4 separate regions of the Homo sapiens genome follow, and regions 2, 3 and 4 are each linked to region 1. Evidence: promoter capture Hi-C in human tissues and cell types (Jung and others, 2019). All regions are on one chromosome and are shown on one strand. The core of a region is centred on a gene start or on the middle of the fragment in contact, and the rest is flanking DNA. Distances in the headings are between cores, read along the strand shown. Region 1 holds the start of ZNF43 (zinc finger protein 43). Region 2 overlaps ZNF431 (zinc finger protein 431). Region 3 overlaps ZNF430 (zinc finger protein 430). Region 4 overlaps ZNF85 (zinc finger protein 85).

The links. The method cuts DNA at HindIII sites, captures the fragments that hold promoters and counts their contacts. A contact is called where the count stands out against the background at its distance.
Region 2: a fragment that was not itself captured here is called in contact with the fragment with the promoter of ZNF43 in region 1 in 1 of the 25 tissues and cell types used here (pancreas).
Region 3: a contact is called between a fragment that was not itself captured here and the fragment with the promoter of ZNF43 in region 1, in 1 of the 25 tissues and cell types used here (spleen).
Region 4: a fragment that was not itself captured here is called in contact with the fragment with the promoter of ZNF43 in region 1 in 1 of the 25 tissues and cell types used here (dorsolateral prefrontal cortex).

The regions. Positions count from the first base shown.
Region 1 is chr19:21,833,368-21,838,897 of GRCh38, reverse strand. ZNF43 (zinc finger protein 43) reads left to right here and starts at 2,716. Exons shown (of 4, transcript NM_003423.4): 1 at 2,716-2,862. The coding sequence starts at 2,860. RefSeq lists enhancers at 1,679-2,651, 2,763-2,922, 2,943-2,992, 3,033-3,122, 2,652-3,625. The HindIII fragment of the contact is 27,139 bases long and covers 1-5,530 here.
Region 2 is chr19:21,178,269-21,183,775 of GRCh38, reverse strand. ZNF431 (zinc finger protein 431) reads right to left here. Exons shown (of 5, transcript NM_133473.4): 5 at 1-1,153. Among named protein-coding and RNA genes, the nearest start is that of ZNF431, 39 kb to the right of the region's middle. The HindIII fragment of the contact is 4,605 bases long and covers 713-5,317 here.
Region 3 is chr19:21,026,544-21,032,122 of GRCh38, reverse strand. The region is part of intron 2 of ZNF430 (zinc finger protein 430); the gene reads right to left. Among named protein-coding and RNA genes, the nearest start is that of ZNF430, 8.7 kb to the right of the region's middle. The HindIII fragment of the contact is 6,523 bases long and covers 1-5,579 here.
Region 4 is chr19:20,930,325-20,935,745 of GRCh38, reverse strand. It overlaps ZNF85 (zinc finger protein 85), which reads right to left. Exons shown (of 4, transcript NM_003429.5): 2 at 1,596-1,722; 3 at 699-797. Among named protein-coding and RNA genes, the nearest start is that of ZNF85, 9.8 kb to the right of the region's middle. The HindIII fragment of the contact is 8,469 bases long and covers 1-5,421 here.

The sequences.
Region 1 (5,530 bases), core at 1,467-3,966:
TGTGCTGACCTCCTATCTCATCCTGTGACTAAGAATGCCTAACCTGGGGAGGCAGCCAAGTAGGTTTCAGCATATTTCACACAGCTGCTATTCAAGATTGAGTTGCTCTGGTTTGAATGCCTCCAACATTAAGATCCACTATAAAATTATGAAAAAAGTCTAGAGTAAATGAGAATTAAATTAGGATGGGCTATTCTACCCTGGGTGCGGTGGCTTACTCCTGTAATCCCAGCACGTTGGGAGGCCAAGGCGGGCGAATCACCTGAGGTCAGGAGTTTGAGACCAGCCTGGCCAACATGGGGAAACCCCGTCTCTACTAAAAATACAAAAATTAGCCAGGTGTGGTAGCGCACATCTGTAATCCCAGCTACTCGGGAGGCTGAGGCAGGGGAATTGCTTGAACCCAGGAGGCGGAGGTTGCAGTGAGCTGAGATTGCACCACTGCACTCCAGCCTGGGTAATAGAGCGAGACTGTATCTCCAAAAAAAAAAAAAAAAATTTAGAATGGGCTATTCTGAAAGATGTAGCAATAATTATATTTGTGTTTATGAGTTTTTTTTATTAACCTCTACACTTGATAATGAAAGAGGTTTCCACTGCTAAAGGAAAATAAATCTCTTGATGCCAAAATTACTAAGCCACTAGAAAAGTCAAGTTGAGAACTATGTCAGGCAAATCTGCCTCCCATTTTATTTCTAAATAAGATAGCTACAAAGATAAAAAAGCTACATACTTTCTTTACAATTAGCCAACAAGGAAATTCCTTGAGAACCAAAGACAGACAGAACTCAGAGTCATTTCTCTGAGCCTCGCCTGAGACAAATGCACATCTGATTGCTTCCTCTGCACTGCTGTTAATTTAGATATGCAGGTTCACTGAGCCAGACTAAATTGTATTCAGTTGAATGCTTATCAAGGACTCAAGAATCCAGACTTTTATCTCTTATTTACTTATGACCTGGAAGCCCTCACCTCAAGTTGTCCTGCATTACTGGATCAAACCAAGAAAGAGAGAGAGGAAGGAGGAGGTGGAGAAGGAAAAAGGTAGGGAAGGAAGATCTTATACATATTGATTGATGTCTCATGCTTTCCTAAAATGTTTAAAAGCTGCTGGGCATGGTGGCTCACACCTGTAATCCCAGCACTTTGGGAGGCTAAGGCGAGCAGTTCACCAGGTCAGGAGACATCCTGGCTAACAGGGTGAAACCCTGTCTCTACTAAAAATACAAAAAATTAGCTGGTATTCATAGAAAATATAATTTTTAATTATCGAGTAATCTGAATAAATGAATATATCATAAAAAAATTAGCTGGGCATGGGGTCATGCACCTGTATCCCCAGCTACTTGGTAGGCTGAGTCAGGAGAATCGCTTGAACCTGGGAGGCGGAGGTTGCAGTGAGCCGAGATTGTGCCACTGCACTCCAGCCTGGTCGACAGAGCAAGACTCCGTCTCAAAAAAAAAAAAAAAAAAAAAAAAAAAGTAAGTGTAGGCAAATGTAGATGCAAATACACATCTGTTTACACAAATTCCTACTTTCAAAATCACAGAGAATGGTCACTTTTTAGCCTTTTTATGAATAAAATCCTGGATTCCATTTATTATTCCATTAGAACTTCTGTACCTATTTTGAAATTTGAGATTAAATTGTCTTTTGCTGAGTTTGCCCAGTTTATATTTCAAGTAATACTATATCATGGGAACACATTAGAGATTTTCTATATTTTTATGTTTTACATCAGTTTCTAAAACCTGGAAATTATCTTGTTTTGAATTTCTTATGAAAATGGAATACTATCCACTAAGAATATTCCATTAGCATACTGCAACTTAAAGTCAGGAGATCTAAACTTTTTCTGGTAACATTACCTATATTTAGTTTTTTAAAAAATGTTCTCTTTTTGTATATGCTTTTTAATTTGCTTTTAAAACATGTGCATAACATTTCCTTGAATTCTATTAATGGACCTCAATGCTTTAAAAAAATTTTTTGATAAAATAATTCAGTCTGAATGTGATGGTTCATGCCTATAATCCCAGTACTTTGGGAGGCTGACTTTGTAGGATTCATTGAGCCCAAGAGTTTGAGACCATTCTGGGCTATCTAGTGAGGCTTCATCTCTACAAATAAAAATATGATAACAAATTAGCTGAGCATGGGGCCACATGCCAGTGGTCCCAGCTACTCAGAAGGCTGAGACAGGTAAATTGCTCAAGCCTAGATTGCTGAGGCTGCAGTGAGCTGCAGTCATGACCCTGCACTCCAGCCTGGGTAACAGAGACTCCCTCTCAAGAATAAGAAAAACCCCACAGAGGATAAATAATAAAATATTCAATGTTTGTAATACTTCCTACTCAAAGGGCCAGAAGCCAGGAAGGTCATAAAAGCTGAAATTCAAAAACAATTGTTTTCATTTTTTAGTATCCATATAGTATATTACTTATAAGTGAAGATGACCTTATACACAAGGTTAAAGGCAAATACCCTCTGGGTTGGGCCTGCTCTGCTCAGGGAGGAAGCCCTGCCTGAAAAGGCGGCAGCCTAGGCTGTCATTCTTTCTTCTTTCAGCCCAGCGTCTGATCACATCTTTCATTCAGGGTTTGCGGGGGCAGGACCTTAGAAGTTATCCAATCAGGGACGCTGGGCTGGAAACCGTCCAATCAGGCACGGGGCAGGAGAGGACAGGGCGGCTTCCGGGATGTGGCGGGGCCTTTGTCTCTGGCTGCAGTTGGAGCTCTGCGTCTCGTCTTCGTTCTTCTGTGTCCTCTGCTGCTAGAGGTCCAGCCTCTGTGGCTCTGTGACCTGCGGGTATTGGGGGATCCACAGCTAAGACGCCAGGACCCCCCGGAAGCCTAGAAATGGTGAGAGTGCCGGTCCGACATCCCGAGAGGGGGAAGGGGCTGTGGCGTGACTCAGGCCTTCCCGCAGTCAGCTCCACAATCTGCGCGTGCCGGAGTTCTTGCCCAGCTCGGCCTCAATCCCCTTCAGCCATAAGATGGCGGCTGCTCTGGGAGGCAGCCCCGGGCGTCCTGTCTCTTCTCTGCGCAGTGACTGTGTCCCGGCCTGCAGCCCTCTGTGGGCAGCTCTGCAGCCGCAACGCGGCGTCTCTCCCAAATTGTGCAGGGGCCACAGGAGGGTCGTCAGGAGAGAATCCTGACTCGTGATGCAGTTTCATGAATAGGAAGAGCTTTGGTCCGTGGCATTTCTAGTCCCTCTTTTGGTCTATTAGAAACAGGAGAGTCGGCCGGGCGCGGTGGGTCACGCCTTTAATCCCAGCACTTTGGGAGGTCGAGGTGGGTGGATGACGAGGTGAGGAGTTCGAGAGCAGCCTGGCTAATATGGTGAACCCCGTCTATACTAAAAATACAAAAATTAGCTGGGCGTGGTGGCGCGCGCCTGTAATCGCAGCTACTAGGGAGGCTGAGACAGGAAAATCGCTTGAACCCAGGAGGCGGAGGATGCAGTGAGCCGAGATCGCGCCATTGCACTCCAGCCTGGGCCACAGAGTGAAACTCCCTCTGGAAAAAAAAAAAAAAAAAAACTAAACTAGATTTTCCTTTATTTCTGACATTCCCAAATGCCACCTTCTTCTCCGCAATTCACGTTATCAACTATTTTTTCTTTTTTTTCTTTTTTTTTTTTTTTTTGAGATGGACTTTCGCTTTTGCTGCCCAGGCTGGAGTGCAATGGTGCTATCTCGGCTCCCTGCAACCTCCGTCTCCCGGATTCAAGCGATTTTCTTGCCTCAGCCTCCTTAGTAGCTGGGATTACAGGTGCCTGCCACCACACCCAGCTAATTTTTTTTGTATTTTTAGTAAAGACGGGATTTCACTATATTGGCCAGGTGGTCTCGAACTCCTGAGCTCAGATGATCCACCCGCCTCAGCCTCCCAAAGTGCTAGGATTACAGCACTTAAAAATAGCCACCGAGCCGGGCTATTTTTTTTTTTTTTTTAGTGTACATTTTAGATACAGAGATACGTTTTAGATAAAGATATTTTAGATATCTGTATATTTTTGATACAGATATTTTAATTATTTTTTGAAAAATCATTGGATGGACTTAAATAAATTTTCCTTTCTTCTTTCCTTCTTCTTTCTTTCCTTCCTTCCTTCCTTCCTTCCATCTTTCCATCCTTGCTTCCATCCTTCCTCTCGCTTTGTTTCCCAGGCTGGAGTGCAATGGTGCAATCTCAGCTCATTGCAACCTCCCGGGTTCAACCGATTCTCCTGCCTCAGCCTCCCGAGTAGCTGGAATTACAGGCACCTGCCACCGTGCCTGGTTAATTTTTTTGTATTTTTAGTTGAGACAGGGTTTCACCTTGTTGGCCAAGCTGGTTTCGAACTCCTGACCTTGTGATCCACCCGCCTTGGCCTCCCAAAGTGCAAGGATTACAGGCGTGAGCCACCGAGTCCGGCCTAAATTTTGTTTTCTATTTGAAAATATTTTCCATATTGAAAAGAAAGCAAAAAATAATCCCCTTACACTGTTTGTAAAAAATAAAAATCTCTGTGCCTCTTTTCCTTTTCTTTTTTTCTTTACTTTTTTTTTTTTTTTTTTGAGACAGTGTTGCTTTGCTGCCCAGTCTGGAGTGCAGTGATGTGATCTCTGCTCACTGCAACCTCTGCCTCCCTGATTCAAGTGATTCTTTTGCTTCAGCCACTCCAGTAGCTGGAACTACCGGCACCTACCACCATTCCCAGCTAATTTTTGTATTTTTGTTAGAGACAAGGTTTTTCCATGTTGACCAGGCTGGTCTCGAACTCCTAACCTCAGATGATCCACCCGCCTCCGCCACCATGCCTGGCCTCTTTTTTCTTTTTGTTTTCCCTAGGCACAGGACTCTTTTTTTTCCCCCGCCCCGCCTTAAGATGGAGTTTAGCTCTTGTTGCCTAGGCTTGACTGCAGTGGAGCCATCTCAGCTCACTGCAACCTCTGCCTCCTGGGTTCAAGCGATTCTGCTGACTCAGCCTCCCGAGTAGCTAGGACTACAGGGATGCACTACCACGCCTGGCTAATTTTGCATTTTTAGTAGAGACAGGGTTTCCCCATGTTGGTCACGCTGTTCTCAAACTGCCGACCTCAGGAGATCCACCTGCCTCGGCCTCCCAAAGTGCTGAGATTATAGGCATGAGCCACCACACCCAGCCAGAGACTTTTTCAGAATGTTTTTAGGTCAAGTTTTTCCTTTCGAAAAATGTGGGTGATTTTTCCTCAGCCACACTTCATTTTGTTGTTTTTGTTTTTTTTTTCTGATCCTGGGTTTCAGTACTGTCTAGGGATAAACCAAGATAACCACCATGGCTATGTGTGCTACAGTGTCACAGCCTGGGTGTAGTGGCTCATGCCTATAATCCCAACACTTTGGGAGGCCGAGGTGGGTGAATCACCTGAGGTCAGGAGTTCAAGACCAGCCTGGCCAACATGGTGAAATCCCGTCTCAACTAAAAATACAAAAAAATTAGCTGGGTGCAGGGGCAGGCGCCTGTAATCCCAGCTACTTCGGGAGGCAGAGGCAGGAGAATCGC
Region 2 (5,507 bases), core at 1,766-4,265, 660 kb after region 1:
TTGCCACATTCTTCACATTTGTAGGGTTTCTCTCCAGTGTGAATTCTCTTATGTGTAGTAAGGATTGATGACTGGCTAAAAGCTTTGCCACATTCTTCACATTTGTAAGGTTTCTCTCCAGTATGAATTATCTTATGTGCAGTAAGTTGTGGGGACCGGTTAAAAGCTTTGCCACATTCTTCACATTTGTAGGGTTTCTCTCCAGTATGAATCATCTTATGTGTAGTAAGGTTTGAGGACTCATTAAAGGCTTTGCCACACACTTCACATTTGTAGGGTTTCTCTCCAGTATGAATTCTTTTATGTTTAGTAAGGGTTGAGGACCAATTAAAGCCTTTGCCACATTCTTCACATTTGTAAGATTTTTCTCCAGTATGAATTATCTTATGTTTAGTAAGGTATGAGAATCGATTAAAAGCTTTGTCACATTCCTCACATTTGTAGGGTTTCTCTCCAGCATGAATGAACTTATGTGTACTAAGGGTTGAAGACTGGTTAAAAGCTTTGCCACATTCTTCACATTTGTAGGGCTTCTCTCCAGTATGAATTATCTTATGTGTAGTAAGGTGTGAGGACCGGTTGAAGGCTTTGCCACATTCTTCACATCTATATGGTTTCTCCCCAGTATGAATTATCTTATGTGTAGTAAGGGTTGAGGACTGCTTAAAAGCTTTGCCACATTCTTCACATTTGAAGGGTTTCTCTCCAGTATGAATTCTCTTGTGTCTAGTAAGGGTTGAGAACCATTTAAAAGCTTTGCCACATTCTTCACATTGGTAAGAATTCTCTCTAATATGAATTCTTTTATGTTGACTTAGGTGTAAAAGCATGCAAAATGATTTGCCACATTTTTTACATTTGAAAGGTTTCTTTCCAGTATGTCTTGTCTTATGTCTATTTGCATTTAAAAATTTATGAAAGACTTTCACATATTTATCACATGGAAATATTTTGCTCTGGGTAGTTGTCAAACACTGGTTTAGCTCATTATAACCTTCTTTGTGCACCTTATACTCATCTACACTTGCGGAGCCTTTTCTTAACTGTAAATTCTCATGTTCACATTTGCCATATCTTCTCAGTATTACTTGTTGAAAAGAATCTTTTATGTCTTGCTCTGGCCAAAGGTCTTTGGTAAAATAAGAACACATAGCTGAAAGAAATACAAACAACAAATTATTCAACTTACTAGACTCTGATAAACATACTTTACAAATCTAACCTACATTATACAAACTACATAAACAAGATGCCATAATAAAATACCATAGGCCCTAAATCCTTCATAGACATATAAATCTAATAAAAATATACTGACCAAAATATATTTGAGGACAACTTATAAACAAGTGTGTAAAGTTCCCCAGGTGAGCACACAGGTGAGTACACAGGAATGCAAAGACACAGAAGAAAAAGAAAAGTCTGTTACATTTACCCAACACAGTTCTTCCTACTCAACAATACAACATAGTGCCTTTCAAAGTAAATTGCTAACTTTTCGTTTCTTTTTTAATAAACAAGTAAAACACTGGCACATACATCTATATTACTTGCTTCTAGGGGCCCTTCCAGAAACTGGTCTCCCATAACATAAAGTGCTGAAAGAAATGGTGGTATATTTTGGAATTACAGTTTACTTCTGCTGAGACCAAAGGTAAATGTTACAGCAACAGAGAGACTGCAGTACCACAGACAGGGAACAGATACAGCAAATGACTGCTGATTAAGATGAAACAGAAACTCCTTTAACTAAAAAATAAACACAAAATTTTAGACAAGACACATTCAAAGAACATGTTTGAGAGTCTCACAGGATCTCAAACCAAGATAATTGTTTTCAGACTATGCCAGGACAAAGCTACATTATAAACAATGTGACAGGTAGCTATATTTAATGTCCAAATATTAATCAAAGATTACAATGAATACAAAATAGGGCAAAATCGCTCCACCAAAATTATAAGATTTTCAGAAAGAAACCATAAAAAAGATGTATACATTAATTTTAAAAATTTAAAATAAATTGAATACTCAATGAGTAAAATAAGGACACAGACAACTATAGAAAATCAGAAAAAATGAGAATAACAAAAATATTTAAAATATCCAAAAACAGAAATTGTAAAGGAAAATATAACTAAAAAATTCTGAAAGAAAAAATAATGTCAAAATGAAGAAGCTCAACAAATACACTAGGATACACATAAAGATATTTATAACAAACACATATATAAGCACAATTTCGAAAGTCACAGACAAGAAGAGAATGGAGCTGCAAGATAAAAACGACATGTCATTTACAAGCATAGTCTTATGAGATAGCCGGTGAACTGTCAACAAAAACTTTGCAGGCCAGAAGGAAACTGTGTGATATAGTCAAAGTCCTGAAAAAAATAGCTATAAAGTGAGAATAATACCATCAGCATATCTGTCCTTCCAAGTAAAAAGAAAAAAAACCTTTAAAAATAACCAAATACTGAAAAAGTACATTGGCTTTTCATATGCCTTACATATAAAAGATGCTGAAAACCGTTGCTGCTACTGAAAATAACATGATTCAACAAAACAACACATCATATAAAAGACATTATTCTCTGGGAAAAAAAATGCACATACACAAAAATGGAATTTCTTAGCATTATAATAATAGTGCAAAAAATATTAATTATTCTCTAAAATTTGAAAGGTACAAGAATAGAAATCATTATAAACATTTGTTAGCAAATATACAACATAAAATATACAATTAGCAACATCAATGACAAATTTGAAGGCAGATATAATGAGAAAAAATTTTTGGATGCAACTGAAGTTCTTTTTTTTTTTTTTTTCTTTTGATATGGAGTCTCACTCTGTCGCCAGGCTGGATGGTGCAATCTTAGCTCACGGCAACATCCGCCTCCTGGGTTCAAGTGATTCTCTTGCCTCAGCCTCCCGAGTAGCTGGGACTACAGGTGTGCACCACCATGCCCAGCTAATTTTTGTATTTTTAGTAGAGATAGGGTTTCACCATATTGGCCAGGGTGGTCTCGATCTCTTGATCTTGTGATCTGCCTGCCTCGGCCTCCCAAAGTGCTGGGAATATAGGTGTGAGCCACGACACCTGGCCTGAAGTTCATTTTTTACCAGATTAAAATACATTGTTGTATCTTTTAGAGGTTTTATATAATCCCCAAGGTAACCCCAAGAATACGTTTGCGTAAGTACACAAAACAAATGAGAAAGAAGTAAAAGCATACCAAGATAAGTACAACAAAGACACAAAGACAGAAAAAGAGAAAATGAGGAACAAAGATACAAGAAGCAAATACAACAATTAACAAAATAACAATAGTAAGTCTGCATAAGTGGAGAAAAATAAAATTCTTTTCAGACAAGCAAATGCTGAGGGAGCACATCACCACCAGGCCTGCCTTGCTAGAGCTCCTGAAAGAAGCACTAAGGTTAAGAAGAAAAAACCATTACCAGCCATTGCAAAAACACACTGAAGTACAAAGATCAATTATGCTATAAAACAACTACATCAACAACTCTGCAAAATAAGCAGCTAGCACTACTTGGACAGAATCAAAATCACACATAAAAATACTAACCTTAAATGTAATAGGCTGAATACCTCAACTGAAAGACACAGAAGGGCAAGCTGGATAAAGAGTCATGACACAGTTTGGGACCAGCCTGACCAACATAGTGAAACCCCATCTCTACTAAAAATACAAAAAATTAGCTGGGTGTGGTGGTGGGCGCCTGTAATCCCAGCTACTCAAAATCCCGCAACTACAACGAAACTGAACAACCTACTCCTGAATGAATTTCCTGAATGAACAACTTGCTCCTCTTTATTTCTGGGTAAATAATACAACTAAATCAGAAATCAAAAAATTATTTGAAACCAATGAGAATGAAGAGACAATGTAGCCGGGCGTGGTGGCTCACACATGTAATCCCAGCACTTTGGGAGGCTGAGGCGGACAGATCACCTGAGGTCGGGAGTTCGAGACCAGCCTGACCAATATGGTGAAACCCCGTCTCTACTAAAAATATAAAAATTAGCCTTGCTTGGTGGCCGGCACCTGTAGTCCCAGCTACATGGGAAGCTGAGGCAGGAGAATTGCTTGAACCTGGGAGGCGGAGGTTGCAGTGAGCCGAGATCACACCACTACACTCCAGCCTGGGGTCAGAGCGAGACTCCGTCTCAAAAAAAAAAAAAAAAAGACAATGTAACAGAATCTCTGGAACACAGCTAAAGCAGTGTTAACAGGGAAATTTATAGCACTAAGTACTCACATCAAAAAGCTAGAAAGATCTTAAATGGACACCCTAACATCATAACTAAAAGAACGAGAAAACCAAGAGCAAACAAAACTTCAAGCTAGCAGAAGACAAGAAATAACCAGATTCAGAGTGGAAGTGAACGACATAAAGACCCAAAAAACCCTTCAAAAAAACTCAATGAATCCAGGAGCTGGTTTTTTTTGACAAAACTAATAAAATAGACTGCTAGCTAGACTAATAAAACAAGAGAGAAAAATGCAATAAACAATAAAAAATGATAAAGGGGCTATCATCACTGACCCCACAGAAATAAAAACAATGTTCGGAAAATACTATAAACACCTCTGTGCACATAAACTGGAACATCTAGAAGAAATGGATAAATTCCTGGACACATCCATCCTTTCAAGACTGAACCAGGAAGAAGTTGAATCGCTGCATAGACCAATGACAAGTTCTGAAATTGAGGCGGGAACAGCCTACCAACAAAAAAAGTCCAGGATCAGATAAATTTATAGCTGAATTCTACCAGAGGCACAAAGAGGATCTGGTACCATTTCTTCTGAAACGATTCCAAATGATGGAAAAGGAGGGGCCTCTCCTTAACTCATTCTATGAGGCCAGCATCACCCTGATATCAAGACCTGGCAGAGATATAACAAAATAAAACAACAACAACAACACACACACACACACACACACACACAAACCTTCAAGTCAATATTCCTGATAAACATCAATGCAAAAATTCTCAATAAAATGCTGGCAAACTGAATCCAGCAGCACGTCAAAAAGCTTTATTCCCAGGATGCAAGGCTGGTTCAACATACAAAAATTGATGTAATTCAAGTCAGCTTTATTCCCGGGATGGAAGGCTGGTTCAGCATACAAAAATCGATGTAATTCATCACATAAACAGATCTAAAGACAAAAACTACATGATTATCTCAAAAATGCGGAAAAGGCCTTCGAACAAATTCAACATCCCTTCATGTTAAAAACTCTCAATAAACAAGGTATTCATGAAACATACATCAAAATAATAAGATCTATGACAAACCCATAGCCGATATAAAAGGGCAAAAGCTGGAAGCATTCCCCTTGAAAACTGGCACTAGATGAGGATGCCCTCTCCCCACCACTCCTATTTAACATAGTATTGGAAGTTCTGGCCAGGGAAATCAGGCGAGAGAAATAAATAAGTGATATTCAAATAGGAAGTCAAACTGTCT
Region 3 (5,579 bases), core at 1,562-4,061, 810 kb after region 1:
ATTACATATTCTCCATCTTTACTAGGGACCCCAGCTTTCCCCCAATAGGAATCTTGAGTATCTACATCTCCCCATGTTTAACAGCCACAAAGGGAACATTTTTAGTAGTGCCGATTATAAATTTATGGTAGGAATTCTGCGTGGCATATAAGAAGCCATGATGTAGAGAATGTAGAGAAAGCTCTGGTATATAGTAAAGAAATGTTTTGCAGACAGCCTTGAATATTATAAGAATTTTTTAATGTAGTTAAAACAAACTCCTTAAGAAGGAAAAACACAAATCGAGAAGTAAAGATTTGCAAGTACTAAACACATGGCATTCCATGAAGCAGAGTGCACACAGCTCTTCTTCTGAGACACGTTTAGCTGAAAAAAAGCCATTTTTTCTCTTTCTTTCTCTGAAAATCCTTTTTAGATAACATTCTCTGGACAAGTTATACCTGCATTTTGAGAACGTTCCTTTAAAAATGTCAGCACCACCTTTTTGTCTGCTACCATCACGCACACAAACAGAAGGAAGGTCCTGCAGAAAAAGTCCACCCATTTCTCTGTCCTTTATAACAGAAAGGATTCAGGAACAACGAGCTGCTCTATGAATATAAAAGTATGTTTCTCTTTTCCTGTCCTTAGGTGCCCTCCTCTGCCACAGACACCAGCAATTTCTGCTACAGTAATGGAAATATGAGCCACACTCCCCTGTCCCTACCAAACCCAAACAGAACGGGCCCTGAGACCACCCTTTAGTGCAAAGGTGGCACTTAGCTCTCATGAATGTATATTGAAGCCCTCATACTTGATTCTGGCCTCACCTTAGAGTCACATGAGGCACTTCATTAAAACAACATGGATGCTTCCACCCAGAACAATAAACGAAATCCATGGAAAGGGCATAAGTACAGAGATTTCTGCCATGTAATCCTAATTAGAAGACTGGGCAGAGGCCGGGCGCGGTGGCTCACACTTGTAATCCTGGCACTTTAGGAGGCCGAGGCACATGGATGACCTGAGGTCAGGAGTTCAAGATCAGCCTGGCCAACATGGTGTAACCTCATCTCTACTAAAAACACAAAAAATTAGCCAGGAATGGTGGCGGGTGCCTGTAATCCCAGCTACTCAGGAGGCTGAGGCATAAGAATGGCTTGAACCCAGGAGGCGGAGGTTTCACTGAGCCGAGATTATGCCATTGCACTCCAGACTGGGTGACAGAGTGAGATCCTGTCTCAAAAACAGAAAACAAAACAAAACAAAAAAAACAAGACGGGGCTGATAACCACTTAGCTAAGCACTGCCTCTCAAACTTTAATGAGCTTAAAACTCGTTTGGTAATTTTGGCCCCACTCTACGTAATGTGGATCTGCAAGTTTGAAAAGGGTTCATGAATGCGTGTTTCAAACAAGTTCCCTGTCAATGCTGATGTTGTTCCCCCTGGGCTCATTAGCATTAGTTAGAGAAGCAGGTACAGCACAGAGTCCCTTACACTTAGCACTCTTGTCACAACACAAATACTTCTGGTACAAATAAAACCAATCTCCATCTTAAATTTTTATATTCTTCGCTGGCTCTTTAAAGTTTACAGAACAAACAGAAGGCGGCAATGTCTGAATAAATCTGCCTTTGGAAAATAACATGTACACATATACAAATGCAATGTTTATTAAGCAGGTACTATGTGCTCAAGGATATGTTACAGAGCACTGTGCTGGGAATAACACATTTTGTGATTTAATCCTAATAACACCCTGGAAGTTGATACTAAGTGTTCAATAATTCCCAGGACTTAGATAAAGGGTTCAGCATTTTTATTTCTCCCTCTGTTTCTCTGTCATTGATTTTGTTTTAAAGGTATAGAATAAAAGTTAAATACAGGCAGATGAGAAGAACATAGAAAAAGTTTAATGTAGTTTAGAGAAATTTTTATTGTGTATACATTTACTTGTTTGTGGCTTGTGGAGCAACTGCTAGATTGGCAGAAACAGAAAACAAGGTGCTAAATGGAATGTTTCTGTAAGCACTGGTTTTAATACAAATTCAAAAAATAAGATCCTAAAATAAATAGTTTATTTCTGTCATTTATCTGTTTTTGGGTTTCAGAAAATTGTGAGCACCAGCTCTAGAAAAGCAGCAGGACTCACCAGACAAAACTCCAGTCTTTTTTTTTTTAGATGGAGTCTCGCTCTGTCACCAGGCTGGAGTGCAGTGGCACAATCTTGGCTCAATGCAACCTCCGCCTCCCGGGTTCAAGCGATTCTCCTGCCCCAGCCTCCTGAGCAGCTGGGATTACAGGCATGTGCCACCACGCCCGGCTAATTTTTGTATTTTTAGTAGAGACGGGGTTTCACCATGTTAGTCAGGCTGGTCTCAAACTCTCGACCTCATGATCTGTCTGCCTCGGCCTCCCAAAGTGTTGGGATTACAGGTGTGAGCCACCACACCCAGCCAAAACTCTGATTTTTATAAATCAGTTTTGTGAGGTAAGGCTCCAGAGCGGGGCCAGACATAAATAAGGCCTCCAAAAAACGTGAATCTGAACAGAATTTGGGCAGGGAAAGGACCCTATGTAGAATTATGTTCTCTCTGCCACCAAGGTATTTCCAGTTCTGTTTTTCCTAAGCTTACATAAGAGAATCTTAAATCCCAGAGCTTATGTAACTTTAATCTATTTTTGCCACTGCCCTGTCAATTTTATAACATATACTAATAAGCAATTTAAACAAATTTATTAAAGTTCTTTAGAATAATTATACTAGAAGATAAATATATATTCTTAGCAAAGTAAAGGAAACACAAATAATAACAAATCTTCACTCCATAAATATCTCCTCAGCTGATGGTATCAGAAGTAACAATATAAAACAGTGGCCCCAATTTTTTTTGGACACATCTATTCATTGTACCAACCATATAATGCTTAATTCACCCATGTATCCAGTTGTTAGTCTAGACATGTTCCTGGATAGTAAGGATCATGACTGCTTCATCTGTTTTTTGAATGGCCATATAAAATGAAAACAATTACTTTATCTGTTTGAGTCACCAGACCTCCTATTGCTTTCATCCAAGTATCAGGAAACTTGAGAAACTCTCATCTGGGTACCAACCAAAGTTATCTCTTGTATAAGGGGAGAAAAAAACACAGAATTGCCAGGCATGGTGGCTCACACCTGTGATCCCAGCATTTTGGGAGGCTGAGGTGGGCGGATCACAAGGTCAGGAGTTCAAGACCAGCCTGTGCAATATGGTGAAACCCTGTCTTTATTAAAAATGCAAAAATTAGCCAGGCATGGTGGCAAGTGCCTGTATTCCCAGCTATTTGGGAGGCTGAGGCAGAAGAGTCACTTGAACCCGGGAGGCGGAGGTTGCAGTGAGCCGAGATCGCGCCACTGCACTCCAGCCTGGGCGATAGAGCAATACTCCGTCTAAAAAAAGAAAAAAAACCCTAAAAAAACCACACACACACAGAATGACTCATTTCTCTTACACCAAGCCAGAAGCAGAATTAACCACTCTTGTCAGCCTGACACAATTCTGCCCTGGACATCCTCAAATGTCTCAAAGACGTCTAGGTGATTGTGAGAGGGTTCTTAGTGACCCTGGGCTGATGGCCCAATGATAATCCAGGCTGGAGAGATTCAGGCTGATTCTAAATAGAAAATGGCCTGGTGGAGCTCCAGAACCTAATCACTTGTCCCAATTTGCTAGCTTTTGGGTAAGGAGAAAGACAAGAATACTCTACTCCAGTATCACATTTTACAGGTAGGTATAGTTGTGGTCATGGCTATGGATACATTATGACTTTGATATCTCACTCTTAAAATGCTGATTCTGTCATCAGATTCTATTTATATCTGGAGCCTCTCACATAACTGTGGCAAATCACTGAACAAGATCTGAAAAGCTTAAAGAACCACACTGTCAAAGGGGGCTTTAAGATGTCTATGTTGACAACTCACAATGGAGAAAATGCCTCCTGTTGGTTTTCTGTACATTCTCAACCTAAAGTCTGGCCGTGTCCTGTAAATCCCAGGAAGAGGCCAGACCTTATGTGCAGATTCTAGGTAGGATCAACCACACTCTGCATTCTTGGGTGTTACAGCAAGTGGAGTACAATCAAAGGAGAGATCCCCTCATAGAGGCTGCTCTAGCTCATTCTACGTGATATGACTACCTAAAAGGAAAAAGCTGAGGCAACATGAATATAAGAGTTTATTTGGGCCAAGCTTGAGAATAGTAACCTGGGAGCAAAGACACATTTTCCAGAGACTGAACAAATAAGAAACTGAATCCCTGAATAGACCAATAACAAGCTCCAAAATTGAATTAGTAAGAAATAGCCTACTAGCCAAAAAAAAGCAAAGAACCAGACAAATTCCTAGCTGAACTCTACCAGATGTACAAAAAAGAGCTAGTACCACTTCTACTAAAAATACTTCAAAATATTGAAAAGAAAGGACTCCTTTTCAACTCATTATATATAAGAATAGCATCATTCTGATATCAAAACCTGGCAGAGATTAAAAAAAAAAGAAAACTTCAAGCCAATATCCTTGATGAACATTGATGAAAATACCATCAACAAAATACTGGGAAACTGAATTCAGAAGAACATCAAAAAGCTAATCCACTATAATCAAGTAGGCTGCATCTCTGGGAGGCAAGTTGGTTCCATATACAATCAATAAATGTTATTCATCACATAAAGAGAACTAATAACAAATACCAAGATTATCTCAATAGATGCTAAAAATACTTTCAATATAATTTAACATTTTTCATGTTTAAAACCCTTAACAAACTAGGCATTGAAGGTATATACTTCAAAACAATGAGACATCAACGACAAACTTACAGCCAACACACTGAATGGACACAAGCTGGAAGCATTCCTCCTTGAAAACTGGCACAAGATAAGGATGCCTTCTCTCAAACATCCTATTCAACATAAAATTGGAAATCCTGGCCAGAGCAATCAGAGAAGAGATGAAAATAAAAGGCATCTGCCGGGCATGGGGGCTCACGCCTGTAATCCCAGCACTTTGGGAGGCTGAGGTGAGCAGATCACGAGGTCAAGAGATCGAGACCATCCTGGCCAACATGGTGAAACCCCGTCTCTCCTAAAAATACAAAACTTAGCTTGGCATGGTGGCATGTGCCTGTAGTCCCAGCTACTCAGGAGGCTGAGGCAGGAGAATCGCTTCAACCTGGGAGGCGGAGGTTGCAGTGAGCCGAGATCACACCACTGCACTCCAGCCTGGCGAGAGCAAGACTCTGTCTCAAAAAAAAAAAAAAAAAAAAAAAGAAAAGAAAAGAAAAAAGGCATCCAAACAGGAAGAAAGGAAGTCTAACTATCCCTGTGTGCAGATGACATGATTCTATATCTTCAAAACCCTATAGTCTCAGCAGGAAAGCTCTTTAAACTAATAAACAACTTTAGCAAAGTTTCAGGATACAAAATACACGTACAAAAATCAGTAGAATCTCTGTACATCAAAACATCCAAGCCAAAAGCCAAATCAAAAACATAATCCCATTCACAATTGCCACAAAAAGAATAGAATATCTAGGAATACAGCTAATCAGAA
Region 4 (5,421 bases), core at 2,160-4,659, 900 kb after region 1:
AAACCCTGAGGCAGAGGTTGCGGTGAGCCGAGATCACACCATTGCACTCCAGCCTGGGTAACAAGAGCGAAATAAAAAAAAAAAAAATTCTAGTGGCATCTTTTACAGTAATGAAAAATACAATTCTAAAACATACATGAAACTATAATAAACTTTGAATAGCCAAAGCAATCTTGAGGTAAAAGAACAAAGCATAGGGGCATCATACTTTATAATTTCAAACTATATTTCAAGAATGTAGTAATACAAACAGGATGGAATGTGCAGAAAAACAAACAAAAAAACCCCCAATGGAACAGAAACCACTACTCACATATTTCAAACATGATGCAAAAATACAATTAAAAATATTGCTTAACATAGACTTTTTCAAAATTATGCAGATATTTGTGTGTCCCCCAAAACAATGAAAAAGCAGCCAGACTGCGCAGTCTCTTATATGCCACGAAGAGGACTTTGGCTCTAACTGCAAACTTGAAGATCACCGAAGGAAAAGTAGAATCCTTAGAAAATTTAAAAGTATAAGACAGAAGATGCCCCCATGTGAGAGCAAAAAAGAAAGAAAGAAACCTCAGGCTTCTGAGAAACTATTTTCTTTGGAACACAGCTTCCTAAATCACATTTTAAGGACTGGCTTTCTCTTTGGCCTTTGGACCTCTCATGTGTCATCTGCTGTATTCATTTTCACTTTCACCTACCTGTGGGTTTGGCCACCATGATCTCATGTCTCTTCATACTCCAGGCCTCTTTCCCTTGCTCCAGACAAGTGATCAGGTCTGGCTTAGAAACAGTAATACCTGTTTTATTAAAAATAAATAATATAAATCTTGCTCATATTCTCTAATGACCAATCTAGTAATGTGCTTAGCTAGTAAATTAATCCCAAAATACTAATTTATAACAGACATTTTCAAATATTTAAAAAATATTTTTGATTTGTAGGTTCTTTTTTTTTTTTTTTTTGAGATGGAGTCTCACTCTCATTCTGTCACCCAGGCTGGAGTGCAATGGCGTGATCTCAGCTCACTGCAAGCTCCGCCTCCTGAGTTCATGCCATTCTCCTACCTCAGCCTCCTTAGTAGCTGGGACTACAGGACTACAGGTGCCTGCCACCACACCCAGCTAATTTTTTGTATTTTTAGTAGAGACGGGGTTTCACCGTGTTAGCCAGGATGGTCTCGATCTCCTGACCTCGTGATCCGTCCGCCTCAGCCTCCCGAAGTGCTGGGATTACAGGCGTGAGCCACCAAGCCTGGCCCAGTTTCTTAATTTTACTATCCAGTACTATTGAATCAAAAATTGGTGTTGGCAATTACATTTTAAGGTGTGGGCAAAAATTTTATGCCATTAAATTTGTGGAATTTAGTAATCTACAGTGAAGGATACAGATCAGCTCAGAAATTTGGAAAGTTAAGGTCAAAATGAAACATCTTGCAGAAATTCTTTTCTACATGTATTAATCCCCAAGATTTTCTTGAAAACAGGGATCTGAAACTAATTTATGCAAAGCACACTTTACCAGAAAAACATTCCACAAATAAAAGAAATAAAACCTTTAGGGCATATTAGAAATTGTGTATTGAAGTTATCCTCACCCAGGAAGACCAGGTTTCTGTAGTTCTCTAACATCACATTTCTATATAAATTCCGCTGTGCAGTGTCCAGGCATTGCCACTCCTTCAGAGAGAATTCTATGGCCACATCCCTAAATGTCAATGGTCCCTGAAAGATACACACACATACACATACACACACACACACACACACACACACACACACACACACACATAATTACCAACTGGTTATGAAAAGCATTTTTAATTTTACTCAAGGTGAAATGAGAGAGTACAGGTAACTGTTTCTGACTTACAGGAGTGACTAAAATTATAAAATAAAATAATTTTTTTAACACAGAAATATTCTCTAATATATTTTTTAACTCTAAGAAAAGAGAGTGGCATAAGATCCACAATACCAGTGTATACATGATACTTTTCTGGATGATATAGTATAAAATTAAGGGCATAAAAATGTGTATTTTTGGATGCCATATACACATTCTACAGAATGAGTTGTGTATATTTTTCAGATGGAAAAGACAGGTTGAGTTAGAAGGTACTTTTTAAATTTTAATGTGTACAATAAACTGGAGAACTTGTTAATGCAGATTATTTTTTCAGATGATCTGGAATAAAGTCTGATTGTCTGAATTTCTAACAAGCTCACCAGTAAGGTTAATGTTTTTGGCCAAGAAGAATATTTTGTCAAACATCCAGTAAGGGGAAGAACCTGTGTTTTTCCTAATTTTTCTGGCCTGTAAACAAAGATAAGAGCTTTGACTTTCCAAAGACAGATGTATGCAAAAAAAAAAAACTAAGAAAAAAGGGCAGCTGCTGGATTAACTGTGATGGTTTATGCACATTAGCTGCATTAAGATAATAATGAAGAAAAAATAATTATCTCTATAGTGACAAAATCTGTCAGAGAGCTCTTTAACCAAGTGAATCATTAACATGAACTGCACTAGGACAAATTTTTTTTTTTTTTTTTTTTGAGACGGAGTCTCGCTCTGCTGCCCAGGCTGGAGTGCAGTGGTGCAATCTCAGCTCACTGCAAGCTCCGCCTCCTGGGTTCACGGCATTCTCCCGCCTCAGCCTCCCAAGTAGCTGGGGCCACAGGTGCCCACCACCATGCCCGGCTAATTTTTTTTTTTTTTGTATTTTTAGTAGAGACGGGGTTTCACCATTCCCAGGATGGTCTAGATCTCCTGACCTTGTGATCTGCCTGCCTTAGCCTCCCAAAGTGCTGGGATTACAGGCTGAGCCACCGCGCCCATCCTAGGACATATTTTTATGATGTGTTGATGCACATGAAATGACACAGCATCACGGCTGTGATACTGCTCCTCCAAACTATAGTCTGAATTTTAACATTAAAAAATCAGTTTTATGCAAAGTTCAGGATACAGATATCTTCCCTGTCTATAATTTGTAATAGTAATTTTAAATCATCTTTCTTTAGCACCCTAGAGAGCAGGTATCTCCTGATAATTTTTTTTTTAGAACTTTCTGGGTAATAAATGTCATCTTGTTTAACTAAGCATTTCCTTGATCCTGTTTTGCACAGAGGTAATGGAGAATACAGATGGAACCTCAACATTACATGTTTTCCATCTTTACAAATGACTCCAGCTTTCCCCCAATAGAAATCTTGAGTATCCACACCTTTTCATGTTCAAGAGCCACAAAGGGAACATTTTTAATAGTGCAGATTATAAATTTGTGGTAGGAATTCTGCATGGCATATAAAAAGCCACAATGTAAAGAATGTAGAAAGGGCTCTGGTATATAGAAAAAAAATACTTTTCAGACACCCTTGACTATCATAAGAATTTTTACAAGTAGTTAAACTCTTTAGGGAGGGGTAATACAATAGAGAAGTAATGATTTGCATGGCATTCTAGGAGGCAAAGTGGACACAGCTCTTGATCTGAGACATGTTTTGCTTTAAAAAAAGAAGCCATTTTTTTCCTCTTTTTCCTCCTTTTCTGGGAATCCTTTCCAGATGAGATTCTTTGAACAAATTACAGCTGCATGTTGAGAATATGTCTTTAAAGATGTCAACATCAACTGCTCATCTGCTACCACCAGACCCACAGGCAGAAGGATCAAGACCTGCAGAAAAAGCTCACTCATTTATGTCCTTTATAATGGAAGAGATTCAGGAACAATGAGCTGCTCCATGGGTATCAAAATATGTTTCACTTTTCCTGTTCTCAGGTGCCCTCCCCTGTCACAGACACCAGCAATTTCTGCTACAATAATGAAAATATGGGCCATGGCCGGGCTTGGTGGCTCACGCCTATAATCCCAGTACTTTGGGAGGCCGAGGCAGGCAGATCCTGAGGTCAGAAGATTGAGACCATCCTGGCTAACACGATGAAACAGCATCTCTACTAAAAATAGAAAAAATTAGCCAGGCGTGGTGGCATGTGCCTGTAGTCCCAACTACTCGGGAGGCTGAAGCAAGAGAATCGCTTGAACCCAGCAGGCAGAGGTTGCAGTAAGCCGAGATTGCACCACTGCACTCCAGTGAAACTGCACCTCAAAAAAAAAAAAAAAAAAAGAAAAAGAAAAAGAAAAAGAAAATATGGCCACATTGCTCTGTCCCTACCAAATCCAAACAGAAACAGTCCTGCGGCCACCCTTTAGTGCAAAGGTGGAACTTAACTCATGAATGTATCTGGAACACCTCATACTTGATTCTGGCCTCAACTTAAGAGTCACATGAGGCACTTCATTACTACAACATGACTGCTTCCCCCTAGAACAATAAACAGAATCTGTGGAAAGGGCACAAGTAAAGAGATTTCTGCAAATTGGCCATGGAATCCTAATGAGAAGCCTGGGCTGATAACCACTTAGCTAAGCATTGCCTCTCAAGTTTTAATGAGCTTATAAATCACTTGGTAATTTTGGCTCCATTCTATGTAATATGATTCTGCAGGTTTGAAAAGAGTCCATGAATAGGTAACAACCCTGTCAGTGCTGATGTTGCTTCCCTTGGGCTCATTATTGGCATTAGAGAAAGCAGGCACAGCACAGGTTCCCTTACACTCAGCACTCTTGTCACAACCAAATACTTCTGGTACAAATAAAGACAACCCATCTCTGCCAGGCGCAGTGGCTCATGCATGTAATTTCAGCACTTTGGGAGGCCGAGGCAGGTGGATCACCAGAGGTCGGGAGTTTGAGACCAGCCTGACCAACATGGAGAAACGCAGTCTCTACTAAAAATACAAAAAAATTAGCTGGGTGTGGTGGTGCATGTCTGTAATCCCAGCTACTAGGGAGGCTGAGGCAGGAGAATCATTTGAACCTGGGAGGCAGAGGTTGTGGTGGGCCAAGATCGTGCCATTGCACTCCAGTCTGGGCAGCAAGAGCGAAACTCTGTCTCTAAATAAATAAATAAAATCCATCTCCATCCTTAAGTATCATATTCTTTGCTGGCTCATTAAAGTTTACAGAGGAAACAGAAGGCAGCAATGTTTGAATAAGCCTGCATTTGGCAACAACATGTACACCTGTACTAATGCAAGATATATTAAGCAGGAACTATGTACTCAAAAGGATGTTAAAAAGCACTGTGTTGGCCATAACACATTACGTGATTTCATCATCATAACACCCTGAAAGATGTTATTAAGTGTTTAATAATTCTTAGGATTTAAATAAAGAGCCCTGCCTTTCCATTTCTTCTTGTTTCTCTGTCATTGATTTTTTTTAATTGCATAGAAGAAAAGCTAAATATAGACAGATGAGAGGAATACAGAAAGGAAAGTTTAATGTATTTTAGAGAAGTTTTTTACTGTGTTTGTATTTAATTTTATGTGACTTGCAGAGCAACTACTGGATTTGCAAA